2 separate regions of the Homo sapiens genome follow, and region 2 is linked to region 1. Evidence: promoter capture Hi-C in human tissues and cell types (Jung and others, 2019). All regions are on one chromosome and are shown on one strand. The core of a region is centred on a gene start or on the middle of the fragment in contact, and the rest is flanking DNA. Distances in the headings are between cores, read along the strand shown. Region 1 holds the start of SMIM15 (small integral membrane protein 15). Region 2 has its middle 98 kb from the start of LINC03123.

Region 1 (6,774 bases), core at 2,744-5,243:
GGTTCTGAGAGATACAGTCCTGAAATTTTACAAGTATGCTTAGCTGTAACTGAAATTCTAACTTGCATAACATAATGTAACTTAAAATGTTAGTTCCTCCAAAAAAAAAAAAAAAATCCAGGACCTCTTTATAAAAAATTATCAAATTTATTTTAATGTCTAGTTTCATTTTTAAACTGTAGCTGCTAGACAATTTTTTGTAATTTAAAATTCATTAATGGGTACAGAAAACATTAATAAGCTGACAGTGAATTAAATACTAACAGTGAATAAAATTATTGGACCATGCATTTATAAAAGCCATGTTTAATAGTAAAACGTTCCAGTTCTACTAAACTGAAAGAAACATCCTTTAGCTCCCTACTTCCAATTACAGCACATTCTCATTTTGATATAATTTATCCTTTTCACCCAATCACTACTATGCCCAACAAAATGTTTCCAAATTTTATACCTTTCTTTACCACTTATGAAGTATGGCGTAACTGTTACACTTTAAGAGTTCTTTAAAAGAAATGTGAAATTTAACGTTTTACTTTGAACCTGTTTGATCAGAAAGTATTAAATATCACTACCACATGAGTTAAAACAAAGAATGAAATAAAAAACAAATGGTGTCTTTGTAATCGGCGAATTACTTGATAAGACATTTTAACTATTTTACAGTTCTGCTTAGCACAAGAATAAACTGGGTTCCAAGGTACTACAGTGTTTGGCATTTTTACTGCAAGCTTTAAACCATAGTGTTACTCCTCTCAAGCCATCTCTAAGAAAATGGCAGTGTTTGTGAGTACAAAAATTGTTCTGTCCAGTAGGTGGTATTCTACATAGTCGAGATAAGAGAATTCTTTATAAAATTATGTTTTAAAAAATGGAAAATGACTTATAATTACCAGCTGTCTCAAAGGCTGTAATAAGAAAAATGCAGCAAATAGAAGTACTCATTAATATTATTTTGTTTTGAGAAAGCCAGAAATGATTCTAAGAAATAAACAATAATAATAAAAGATGTAATTAATATACTGTATCCCTTTTAAGCCAAAGCACACTTTTTACCTCAAGACTGTTCTGACTTTTACATTCTTAATTTCCTTTGTCCAAAATAGGACCCCATTTTAAATAGAGTTCATTTGAATTGAGTTCATAATCTAAAGTCACTTTTCCCCACAAGATGTTTTCATTTCAGTATATAAACTGCTAAGCGGCAAATGACTAAGTCAGTTATAAAGAATTTGTACCACAGTAAATGCTAATTTACAATAACTGTCAATAGAAACCTATAAACTTCTACACCCACGCCTAAAAGTTACTATAGTATTGAGGTCAGAACTAACATGATTCTTCCATTTGGTCAAATTTCATTTACTAAATCATACTGTCAAGAAATCCAAAGAAGAAACTTTAGTGGATTCTTCCAAAGCTGTGTAATTTTCCAAATGATTTTCCTCTGGTTGCAAAGCCTGTTCAGTCCTTCAATCCTTTTTTAGTCGTTTAGCTTTTGCAATGTTTTCTTGGCGTTTTTGCTTCTTCTTTTGCTCCTTCTCCCTGGCCTCAATCATCTTGGCCAATTTCCAAGACAGTACAGCACTTGCTAGGAACAGTGGAGTAAGGGCCAAAATAACGGTTGTAAGGAAGCCATAGGGGTCCTTTGCAGCCCATTCCACAACATACTCAGCCCAAGCCTTTATATCAAACATCTTCACAGCAGTCTTATGAAAACTGGGGCTGGGGGAGGCGGGTGGAGAACACAGAGGAAAAAAACAGGAGAAAAGACTATGTGGTTAATCAAATTTTGAAAAAGTTTCCTCACACAACCAGTTAACTCAGGATTCCATTATCACTCAGTTTGCTTTTTTAAAAAGTACAACTTAGTACTATTGTAATAAGGACTAGTATCTCTGGTTAGGAAAAAGTAATTCATCTAGTACAGCCAGAATAGTGACACTTCAAAGAGGTAAAGTTATAGAAGATTTAAAAAAGCCATGTGACTCTGTCATAAGGACTATGCATTCTCACATGCCTCCTATATTCAAGACAAACTTTATTTAGGAGGAGGCTTTTATAAAAATCTTGAGTTTTCTGTGGTCATTCCAGGAAACAGCTGAATACAGTTTGTCATTTTTTGACATATCCTTAGTATTACTAATTAACAAAAATACAAATCAGCAAATTTGGTGTTTGAAAAGGACAAGCAACAGAGCATGTGAAATGCTCGCAGAGAAGGAGAGATGACTATTTCCCCGAATGGGAAGGAGAGGGTAAGGGAGTCATGACATCGCATTAATATGCCAAAGAAGCAAAAAGTACTGTGCTATTTTATGCCCTTTCAGCTTTGAGGACCTCTGTTGGAATAAGCCTAATTTAATAAATGAGAAAGTAGCCTTAACAGATGCCATGTGTTTTGTTCCTTTTTGAGTGTAAGGAAAAGGCAACTGGCAAATGAGGATTATGTGACTTGAGTGACGTTTTCTATTTTGCCCCAGAGGCTTTTCTCCCTTTCATGTTTGTGTCAACCGCTATTCAAAGTGGAGAATTAGAATACCTGGGTAGGGAATGAGTGTATATACATCCACTTACAATTTCAACTGGAATTTTTTTAAAAAAATCATCTACCTTATGCTTGAGTAGTGATCCCTTAACTTTGTCCTGGTGTTATTAGTGACCCAATCACGACTTCAGATGACCCTTGGTAGTCTGTCTTCTTGAGTTCTACTGTACACATCTGAGAGACGGTTTAAATTCTGTACAATTGGCTAGTTGGAAAGAATACAAAAAATAAAACAAAATTTAAGTCACAATTTCAGGATAATTGTAATAAAATTTTAAATGGAAAATTTCTATATTGTATATATGCAACCTATATGACATCTAAAATTGCCTATCCGGTATAGTAACTTAATACGTTTCTTCCTCATTTGAATTTACAATTGCAAATGCCCTGTAAGAAAATCCTAATTACTGGAAATCAAGTATTTTACTAAGTTACTTATTTCAATAATAAAATTTTTTTAGTTCATTGACATACGGGAGACAAGTTGGCTCACTGACTGACTTACACAGCGTATCCGTTCCTAGATTTTCAATTTTTATACTAAAAATGTTGCCACTCATTTATTTACTGGATTAGGTACACCACTACAAAATCAAACAGCTCATCTTACTCTTTATAAAGGTTTTTTTGGGTCCATCATACAATTTGTGTCCTTTACTTAAAAAATTAGAAGACATAACCAAACAAATTATAGTAATTCACCCACAGTCCCATTACCCCAAGAAAACTGTGACTAGTTTTAATTATATCTTCCCCACGATTTTCAACTGAACACACATGAAAGTGCCTAATACGTTAAATATCTTAGCTCCTGGACTTCATACGACCTCACCCATACAGTTAGAATTAGGTACTACTGAGATCGATCTGCCTTCACCTTCTCCAGCCCAGTAGCGAATAAACAATGTAAGTTTCAGAAATAAGCAAAAGAACTTTGCAGTAAAAGAGCCATGGTCCACAGGCCACACATCTCCCTGCAACTCAACTTCGGACCCAAACGCTCGCGCCTCCACACTTTCAGGAATAAATCCTACTCTTCCGCCCAAAACGGATCGACCAGGCTCGATCTCCCAACCAGACCCGCGTGGCCCCTGCGGCTGCAACGGGTAGCACTTGACGGCCGTCCGCACTTCCTCCTTTGTCTTTCCCTTATTCCTTACGTTTCTCCCTTGCTCACTCTTCCCTCCTTACCCTATCGGGGCTGCAGACCCACGGAGGCCACGTTCACTCCTGCCCGTCGGCCTTGGCAAGCGCGGGCCCCTTGTCGCGCAGAGCGGAGGGTCCTGGGAGATCCTGGGTTGGCCCAGCCACACCTTGCGCCGCCGCCGTTTCTGCTGGACACCAGGAGAAAACCACGGCAGCTGCAGCCACCAACTTCCCCTACATAGCCCCACGGGATCGGATCCCACTCCCCACTCACCGCCAGACCGGAAGCAGGAAGGCGGAAGTCGCGGCCTTTGCGTCCCGCCCACAGGCGACCCGAGCCGCCAGCCGGGCGTGAGTAAGTCTAGGGCCCAGTTTCCGGCTGCGCCATTGCTGTGTGGGTCTTGGGACCTCGAGTTGGAGGACGCGGGAGGGTGGGGGCGGGGGCAGGGCAGCGCTGAGATTTCCGGGGAGCGGCAGGTGAGGCCGCGCGGGGCGGGTGACGGCACCCGGGCGGGCTCCTTTCCAGGCTGGAGCCCGAGACTGCCACGTCCTGCGGGGACCAAGTGGTGGGCGAGGAGGCGTGGAGCGGCTTCAGGACTCGAGGAGCGGTTCCGAAGCAGCTAGGGACTTTTGCCTTTGCCCCCCGAGGTCGATCGGAAGACAACCCCCATCCCCTGCTGTAGCGGGACAGTTGGAGGGTCATGGGTGGGTGAAGTGTTTGGCTGAGGGAAACTCAGACCAAAGAGCAGCGGCAAGAAAGCAGTTGGGTCCCCACAAAACGCCCGAAGTCAAGGTGAGGGTCACACAACGACTCTTGACGATTCCGGCGAGTTCATCCTGGTGCACATCCCACTCCATGCCTCTCTCTTCTGGTTGGACAATAGTTACATCCTTACGAAAAGGAGGCAAGCTACTGGGCCTTGGTGGATCCACTCAACCTTGTTACCAAGGGACATGCCGCCATGCTATGTGAAAAGGGGGGTTTTGTTGTTTGTTTTTAATTTAAGTATCTAATTCGTTTCACGAAAGAATGATCAATACCGGCCCAGAGTAAACTTGATAAGTAATTAAACTGTCAGGGCATAGAGTTCCCATAGAGGTGCTTGTTCTTTCAATACACAAATAAAGGGATGCAAAAGTCAACATGCAGAAAGGGTGAGTTAATATTGTCTTCTAATCTACAGGAACTGAAAGATTAGCTAATCTGGTTTGGTTGGTGACCAAATTTTGTGATTGCTTGCACTGTTTGACTACCTCTGACAAATGTTGCAAGACCTCTTCACTGATTCTCCAAAGACTATAGAATGTTCTCTTTCAGGAGCAAGCTGCGACATGTTTAACTAGTTTAGGTAAAACAACAATAACTGTTATTTACCAGGGAACAGGCTTTTGGCAGATAATCTAACGATCTACGATACTGTTCGTTGGGCATATGTTAATGTTTGTAATGTTGTATTACCAGCAGTTGTTTTCTTACTCCTTTTTATTTGAAAACCTGGATGATAGTTTCAAAGCCTATGCTGCTTAGGCCTAGCCTGTACCTTAGTAGCCAGAAAAAGTAGACTCAGTCACTGGATTGTGTGCACTGAATACTTACTTGAGATAACTGATTTTTCTAAAACTTCCCCAAGTCTTGAATCCAAGATGTGGGCAGAATGTATTATTTTAACATCCTTCGTTCCAGAGGCCAATGCGTGTTTTATTTTAATCATGATAGGTGGTTTTCCCAGTTACTGCCTCCGGATACTTGCAGTGCTGCATCCCTAGTTAAAAGCCCAGAAGTCTTGGGCAGGAAGGAAGGGCATATAAAGAGAAAGCCTTTGTAGTTCTTTAGCTGTAATCTAGACCAGGGGTCCCCAACGACGGACTGGTACCTGGTTTGCAGCCTGTTAGGAACGGGGCCGCACAGCAGGAGGTGAGCGATGGGTGAGTGAGCATTTCCGTCTAAGTTCCGCCTCCTGTCAGATCAGCAGCATCATTAGATTCTCATGGTGCGAACCGTAATGTGAACTGCATGTGCGAGGGATCTAGGTTGTGCGCTCCTTATGATAATCTAATGCCTGATGATCTGAGGTGGAACAGCTTCATCCTGAAAGCATCCCCCATCCCCGTCCATGGAAAAATTGTTTTCCACGAAACCAGTCCTGGATGCCATTAAGGTTGGAGACTGCTGATCTAGACCATGCCTTTACAATCTAAGTTTGCTCATCTAGCTTCAAGTTACAGGACAGTCTGCAAGACCAGGAACAGCATAGGGGTTGCCACAGTGGAGCTCCTTACTGCAGTCTGCATTGCCTTAACTAAAGGTGGTGTCAGGATTGATTCAAATACTGTGAACTACTTTCCATAAAGAGAAGTCTGAGCTCGTGAACTGAGATTCACAGTTGTGGTACAGTAATGTTATGTATACTCTGATAAATCACTCTGAGTGTGTTTCCACTTAGATATGTGGAAAGCATACTAGGCAATCTCCAATGCCCTTTCAGCTTTAAAATCTGTAAATTGGACTGGATTTGGTCATTTTTCTTAAATAAATAGCATAGTAAGGTATTTGATAGAAACATTATTGCAAGTTTTCTTAAGGTCTTTTTTTTTTTTTTTTTTTTTAATTTTGAGACGGAGTCTCTGTCACCAGGGCTGGAGTGCAGTGCTGCGATCTTGGCTCACTGCACCCTCCACCTCCCAGGTTCAAGCGATTCTCCTGCCTCAGCCTTCTGAGTACTTGGGACTACAGGCGGGCATCACCACGCCCAGCTAATTTTTGTATTTTTAGTATAGATGGGGTTTCACCATTTGGCCAGGATGGTCTCGATTTCTTGACCTCGTGATCCACCCGCCTCGGCCTCCCAAAGTGCTGGGATTACAGGCGTGAGCCACCACCGCGCCTGGCCTTTTTTTTTTTTTTTTTTTTTAAACACGGTCTTGCTCTGGCCCAGCTGGAATGCAGTGGTGCGATCATAGCCCACTGCCTCTTCGAACTCCTGGGCTCAAGGGATCCTCACTCCTCACCTTCTGAATAGCTGGGACTACAGCCACAAGCCACCATGCCCAGCTTAGCATACTCATTATTTTTTAAA
Region 2 (7,054 bases), core at 3,422-5,921, 670 kb after region 1:
GACATTTATAATCCTAGATTTGCCAGCCTTTTATGTTCCTAGCCCAGAGAAGTAACCAAAGGAGGGTAGCCAAGTAGCTATTTTGAGAAAGGGCACGTGCAGGCACTCTCTATTAGGATGCTGTGCCCCTGCTCACTGATGGCTCAGACAGTGGAAATTAGAGGACCCAAAAGCTCCTCTGCTTGTCGTCTGCAGCATGTTTTTACTGTTGATGAGCAGAATTCAGAGAGCCTGAGAATTGCATACTTAACAGAAGCTCATCCAAACCTATTTGGTCTGGATAATGGGCTGGAAATCAAGCTCTTGCTGAGAGTTTCTGGTTCAATCAAGTCAGAAAATTACATGAATCTCAATTTTTAAAATACATATGTTTTATAATATGATTGAAAGAGTACCTTGGACTTGAGTTTTTAACCAGCTAGTCCCCATTTCTCCAACCCTTACCCAGCATCAAAAAATTCACAGGGATTTATCCTAGAAAATTTAATTGTATTCAAGCTGCCAAGAAAGGAATACTTGCTTAAGGTACTTGGTCCATCAGAGGGAATCAAAAACAGGCTGACTTTATAGAAATATAGGAATTTTTATGTAAAAGTATGCCCACTAAACTATTTATTTTAATCTTGTTTTATCTTTTTTATTGCAGCACTTTATTTTTCCTTACACAATGACATGTTGCTGGGGCCTAATGTCCTCACATAACAGTAGAAAACAAAAATTTGTTTTCATTTCTTAAAGAATCCAGAATTGTGTACAAAAACTTTCATAAATTAAAAGGATGAATACACTTACAGGGGCGAATGCAAACCACTTCTAACTCAAGGCAAGCCACCGTGTTCTGGCAGGAAAACATCAGGTAAGAAAGGAAACTGGGTCCTAAGGCTTGGATTTCTCCAACCCTCATAGATCGGAAAGACAGAAAGGACAACTGGTTCAGAAGTTTTGTCAGCCTCTAGAGAAATCCTGAAGCACTCCATTCTGACACATTAATACCTGCACAGATTGAGAGACTGCTGGTCACGCGGACTCACCAAGCCACAGACTTCTCCTTCAAAAGCATGTTTTCACCTCAGCCATGAAGTGACTGAGCCACATGTACTAAGGGTTTACATCAAAGATATGTACAGGGTGTTAAACAAATACCAAGGGAACAATTAACTTGAATACAAGGTCAAAATCAGCAACAAATTCTATAATCCAGTGCCAATATTAGATACAAGCTTCAAGGACCAATTTCTTTTCAAAAGCTTATTCCAATTTTGTGAGGTTAGCATGTGGTGTATACATTTGCCTGGGGCAAATTTATACTTCTGAATTAACTCATGCAGCAAATGCTATGCATCTGCTCACAGTCCATTTAGAAGCATTTGCAGTGGATGATGGAGGGGCCAGCTCATCACACTACTGCTTGCTGATCTGCGTCAGCTGGAGGGAGGACAGCGAGGCCAGGATAAAGCCACCAATCCATTCCGAGTACTTGCCCTCAAGGGGAGTGGTGATCCTGATCCTCATGGTGCTGGGCGCCAGGGCAGTGACCTCCTTCTGCATCCTGTGAGTGATGCCCAGGTATATGATAGTGTCACCAGACAGCACTGTGTTGGCAAACAGGTCCTTGCAGATGTTCACATTATACTTCATGATGTAGTTGAATGTGGTCTCATGGATGCTACAAGATTCCACGCCCAGGAAGGAGGGCTAGACACTGGAACTGTTCATTGCCAGTGGTGATTACCTGCTGTGTGGAAGCCCCTAGTTCTTCTCCAGGGAGGAGCTGGAGGCTGTGGTGGCCATCTTCTCTGGAAGTCCAGGGAGAGATAGCACAGCTTCTCCTTGATGTTGTGCATGATTTCTTGTTCGGCTATGGAGGTGAAGCTGTAGCCTTGCTCTGTGAGGGTATTTGTAGGGTAGTCAGGTCCCAGCTAGCCAGGTCAGATGCAGGGTGGCATGCAAGAGGGCACAGCCCTGGTAGAGGGGCACCATGTTGGTGACCCCATCACCAGAGTTCATCATGGTGCCAGTGGTGCTGCCAGAGGCGTGCAATAAGCACAACCTGGATAGCCACCTGCATGGCTGGGATGTTGAAAGTCTCCAACATGATCTGGGTCATCTTTTCACGAGTGGCCTAGTGGTTCAGGGAGGCCTTGGTCAGCAGAACCAGGAGCTCCCCAGAGGTGATGCGCAGCTTGTTGTAGAAGATGTGGAACTAGATCTTCTCCATTTCATTGTATTTGGTGATGATGTCATGCTCAATGTGGTGCTTCAGGGTCAGGCTTTCATGCTTGCTCTGGGCCTAGTCACCAATGTAGGAGTCCTGGCCCATGCCCATCATCATGCCCTGGTGTCAGGGGTGCCCAACGATGGAGGGGGAACATGGGTTGGGGGACGTTGTGTCCAGCAAAGCCAGCTTTGCACATGCTGGAGCCATTGTCAATGACCAGCCCATGATCTCTTCTTTCACTGCTTTGGCCAAGGAGCCAGGTGTCCCGGCTGGGAGAGAACGTGGAGCATGGGCCAGTCCATTGGTGACTGAGCCTATTAGAGTCTTTAAAAATACTGTTTGTAGAAACTACAAATTGCAAAACAGAAGCTGCTGAAAGCAAAACCCTTCCCCTCTTTTCCCTAAAAAAGAAGGAAGGAAGGAAGGAAGGAAGGAAGGGAGAGAGGGAGGGAGGGAGGGAGGGAGGGAATGAATGAATGAAGGAAGGAAGGAAGGAAGGAAGGAAGGAAGGAAGGAAGGAACGAAAGAAAGGAAACAAGAACATTAAGAATGTAGTCAACTGTGTAAGTAATGGCCCCTCTCATAACTCTAGATCATTTTTCTCCCTATCAAAGGTACTAAATTATGTGAAAAGCCATCTCATCTACTATATACAAAGGAAGAGGGAGCATAAAACAAAAGAGAAGATCATACTAGTAGTTCAAATTCCTTAAGTGATGAGGATTTCTGGAAATATCAGTAAACAGAATCATGTTCTCCAAAAGGCTGAGCTTTCAGTTCAAAAACCCTGTAAAAGTCTCTTTTGGATTACCTGGTGAAGAGCTGCAACTTGAGTTGGAGTCAGCAGCTGGGAAGCCATAAAGTTTTCAATCTAGGCATTTTCCATTTTTTATGGCCTAGTTGGTATCTCTAAGGAAATTTGCAAAATTACTTCTAGTCATTTAGTTTTCTGAATCTGCATGAACCACACTCATTTACTTAGGCCAATATGTCTTAGCTCATATTGTTCTCTCATTATTTTTTCTATTTTTTAAAATTAGCATTTACCTATAGGAAAGACAATGAGGTCTTCTTTTGCCCTGAATTCAAGTCCTTCAAGGCTCTCAGAGTGTTACAACAAGCAGAAATCTTAGCAATGAAGTTATTACAAACCCTTGATTTTACAGGAGAGGAAACTAGGGTCAGAGTAGGTGTGAGACTTATCTATAATGATTTTCTAAATGATTTTAGACTTATCTATAATGATTATCTAAAATGATTTTCTGTAAAACATAAATTAGCATGGGTGGTGGAAAATGACAGGTCTCTGAAGTTAAACAGACTGTATAAGAGTCCCAGCTCTACCTGTTGCCTTTGTGGCCTCAGGCATAACCACATAACCATAATCTCTATAATGTCATCCATAAAATGGGGATAATAAAATACATATTAGGGGTTGTGTGGACTGGCTTAGGACAGGCTTTCAATAAATGTCCATTTTCTTTTTTTAAAAGACAAGACACCAAAACAAGTAAAATATCCAGGAGATTAAGATGGACAAATTTCCCAATTTATTTTAGGCCACATGAAAATGAGGCAGGACTTCTATTCCTAGTTGATCTCTGTAATTCTCTTAATTTTCTAAAAACCCCGTATCTCCACAGGAGCTCCACAGGAGCTCCCTGAAAAAAATATATTTCCACTAATAGAAGAACCTAGGGTTCTTACACTTCCCTTTTGGTGCCTGGGAAGTGGGTTTCCCTCATGCTGTGAGAGTGCAAGGACTCCTCGACATTGGCCTATATTACTTAGGATGTTGCTCAAGATCCAGAGGATGGGCCCCTTCGAATTTGATGAGCTTCATATAGTAATCATCAGAAATCAGGCTGAGCACTTGGTATGGAATCAGGAAAATTAGCAGATGGATGGACTGGTGTGAATACGAAACATAGCCTGATTTTGGAAGTAAGGAAGAAGAAAAGGAAGATACTGGCAATAATTGCCCTGTAAACATCATTTCCAATCATATTCATATATATACACATCTCTAAGTAGCAGGAGAGTGATGATATCAGGAACAATAAGTGATGTAGGCTTCAAAGAAACAAATCATTCCTGCACAATAGCTTTTTTTGACAGAGTTATGAATAGATGAAGGGGAAATGCAAGAGATGTAATATATCTTATGTTGGTAAAGACGATATGTCTCAGGAAATTTTATTTGCAAAATTAGCTACAAGATCACAAAGAAAGTTTATTGATAAATTGCAAAGTTTCTGGTCGTAGGGAGCTGCAGAAATGGCTGTTGGGGATGCTCTTATTTAACACCTTCATCATTAATTTGGAAGAAGGAGTGAATCCCTCCCTGTGTTCATGAAAATTACAGTTTATACTAAATCAGGACGTGGTGTGAACACTGATTAGCCAGAGACTGACACAAAGGGGTCCCAAAAGGGGATAATTGGACAGACGCAAGAGCTAACTGAGGAAAGTGTCTTAAGGTGTGTTTTGATTTACCTTTCTTCACAGAGAACTGAGTTAGAATCTGACAGCAAAGCAGGGCCACACAGACTTGGAGGAAGAGGTGGACAATGGAAAAGAATCTGTTAGGTACAAACTCATGGGGACTAGTATTTGGCGGGGGCCCACCCTGTGCAAAGTTCTGCACTCAGACTTCCACAATCTGAGAGGGTGCTCAGAGGAGACTCAAAGAAGTTAAAAATCCCAGAATAGAAAAGAAACTCAAAATTTTTCATAATCCAACCATTCCCCAGTGATTATAATTTGACATAAATTTGACTCCCTTGACTTCTAGGAATGATATGGTTTGGCTGTGTCCTCACCCAAATCTCATCTTTAATTGTATCTCCCAGAATTCTCATGTGCTGTGGGAGGGACCCAGGGGGAGGTAATTAAATCATGGGGGCCAGTCTTTCCTGTGCTATTCTCATGATAGTGAATAAGTCTCATGAGATCTGACCGGTTTATCAGGGGTTTCGGCTTTTGCTTCTTCCTCATTCTCTCTTGCTGCCACCATGTAAGAAGTGCCTTTCACCCTCCTCCATGATTGTGAGACCTTCCCCAGCCACGTGGAACTGTAAGTCCAATTAAACCTTTTTCTTTTGTAAATTGCCCAGTCTCGGGTATGTCTTTATCAGCATTGTGAAAACAGACTAATACACCCAGTAAGTATAATTTGACATAAACTTAACTACTTCTAGGAGCTTGGATTCCATAGTAGCACAGAAATCCCACGGCAGATGATCAATTGTGTACTGAGATATGTCTGTATACAAACAACATATACAAAAATAACTTTTTTCAATCTTCGTAATTAATATGGGGGAAATGAAGCAAGGTTCTAAATGAACTGTGGCAGGTAGCTCAAGAGAGAGATGGTGGAAGGTGTTCTTGTGACACAATTTGCAGCCACATTTGATTGAGAGAGTTCGTGAATCACATCAGAAGAGGCTAGCTGATGATTTGCTGTTGTACTCAAGTCCCACAGGATTTTGAAAACAAATCAAGAGAGAGCAGGTTTGTTTGTGATAGTGAAGAATGTGAAAGAGCAGTGGACTTGGAGATAGTTCTGGCTGTTCCTCTGACCAAGCCAATTCGGGAAAGTCACTTCCCATCCTGGACATTGATGATCTCATCTTTAAAATGAGAAAGGTGGGCTAGTCTAGGATTCATGAACTCAAATTTCTTCAGGGTCCAGATAAATAATGTAAACATGTAAAGTTTCCACAGGTAGTGGTAGGTCTTGTAGGAATTGGAGAGTTATCACACCAATTTTGGGAATTCAAAACTTGGAAAGCTTTGTACTGTTTAAATAAAACATCTCTGTTCACGGATGATATGGTTTGCCTGTGTACCCACCCAAATCTCATCTTGAATTGTAGCTCCCACAACTCCCGCGTGTCATGGTAATTACCTCCCAGTAATTGAATCATGGGGGCAGGTCTTTCCCATGCTGTTCTCATGATAGTGAATAAGTCTCATGAGATCTTATGGTTTTATAAAGGGGAGTTCCCCTACACAAGTCCACTCTTCCCTGCCACCATGTAAGATGTGACCTGGCTCCTCATTCGCCTTCCACTGTGATTGTGAGGCCTCCCCAGCCACGTGGAACTGTGAGTCAATTAAGCCTCTTTCCTTTATAAATTACCCAGTCTTGGGTATGTCTTTATTAGCAGTGTGAGAACAAACTAATACAGTAGGCAAGATCATTATTCCATTATATTATTGTATTCCCAAGGAGATGAAGGGAAGAGAAAGTGGGAGTGGGTACAGAAAAACAGAGAGTGATGGAGAAAGCAGTATCCAAGGTTCAGGAATGAATCCCAGAACCCAAGTTTAGTCTGTTCCAAAGAGCTGAGAGTCAGAAACTTGGAAAAGCAGAGATACCAGACACTGCAGAACTTTATACCAGTGCTGTGCAGTAGAAACGACATGTGAGCCACAAATGTAATTTTAAATTTTTCAGAAGTCACATTTTAAAAGTAAAAAGAAACAGGTAAAGTAATTTAATGCTATATTGTATTTAATCCAATATATTAAAAAATTTATTTCAAACACAATTAATTTGCATATGTCAATAAAACAGTTTACGTTTTTTTGTTCTAAGCCTTTAAAATCTGATATGTATTTTACACATACAGCACATCTCCGTTTTGGACTAGCCACACTTAAAATGCTTTATAGCCCCACATAGGTAGTGGCTATAGTATTGCACAGTGCAAGTCTAGAAGGATCAGAAGAGAGAAAGGGAGGTGACCCACAGGCTAATACAAACATCCATGGTTTGGAAGTCAGGTGTGTCAGAGAAGTACCAGGAAATGTGTTATTGGGAAAGAT

The links. Contacts are between HindIII fragments. The study calls those that stand out against the background at their distance.
Region 2: a fragment that was not itself captured here is called in contact with the fragment with the promoter of SMIM15 in region 1 in 1 of the 25 tissues and cell types used here (dorsolateral prefrontal cortex).

What each region holds. Positions count from the first base shown.
Region 1 is chr5:61,158,475-61,165,248 of GRCh38, forward strand. SMIM15 (small integral membrane protein 15) reads right to left here and starts at 3,994. Exons shown (of 3, transcript NM_001048249.4): 1 at 3,743-3,994; 2 at 2,614-2,753; 3 at 1-1,725. The coding sequence starts at 1,697. The coding sequence ends at 1,473. SMIM15-AS1 (SMIM15 antisense RNA 1) reads left to right here and starts at 3,842. Exons shown (of 4, transcript NR_109908.1): 1 at 3,842-4,052. RefSeq lists enhancers at 3,161-4,057, 3,543-3,622, 3,693-3,952, 4,483-4,582, 4,623-4,682 and a silencer at 4,133-4,242. The HindIII fragment of the contact is 13,088 bases long and covers 1-6,774 here.
Region 2 is chr5:61,830,587-61,837,640 of GRCh38, forward strand. It overlaps the pseudogene LOC643307. Among named protein-coding and RNA genes, the nearest start is that of LINC03123, 98 kb to the left of the region's middle. The HindIII fragment of the contact is 6,877 bases long and covers 1,234-7,054 here.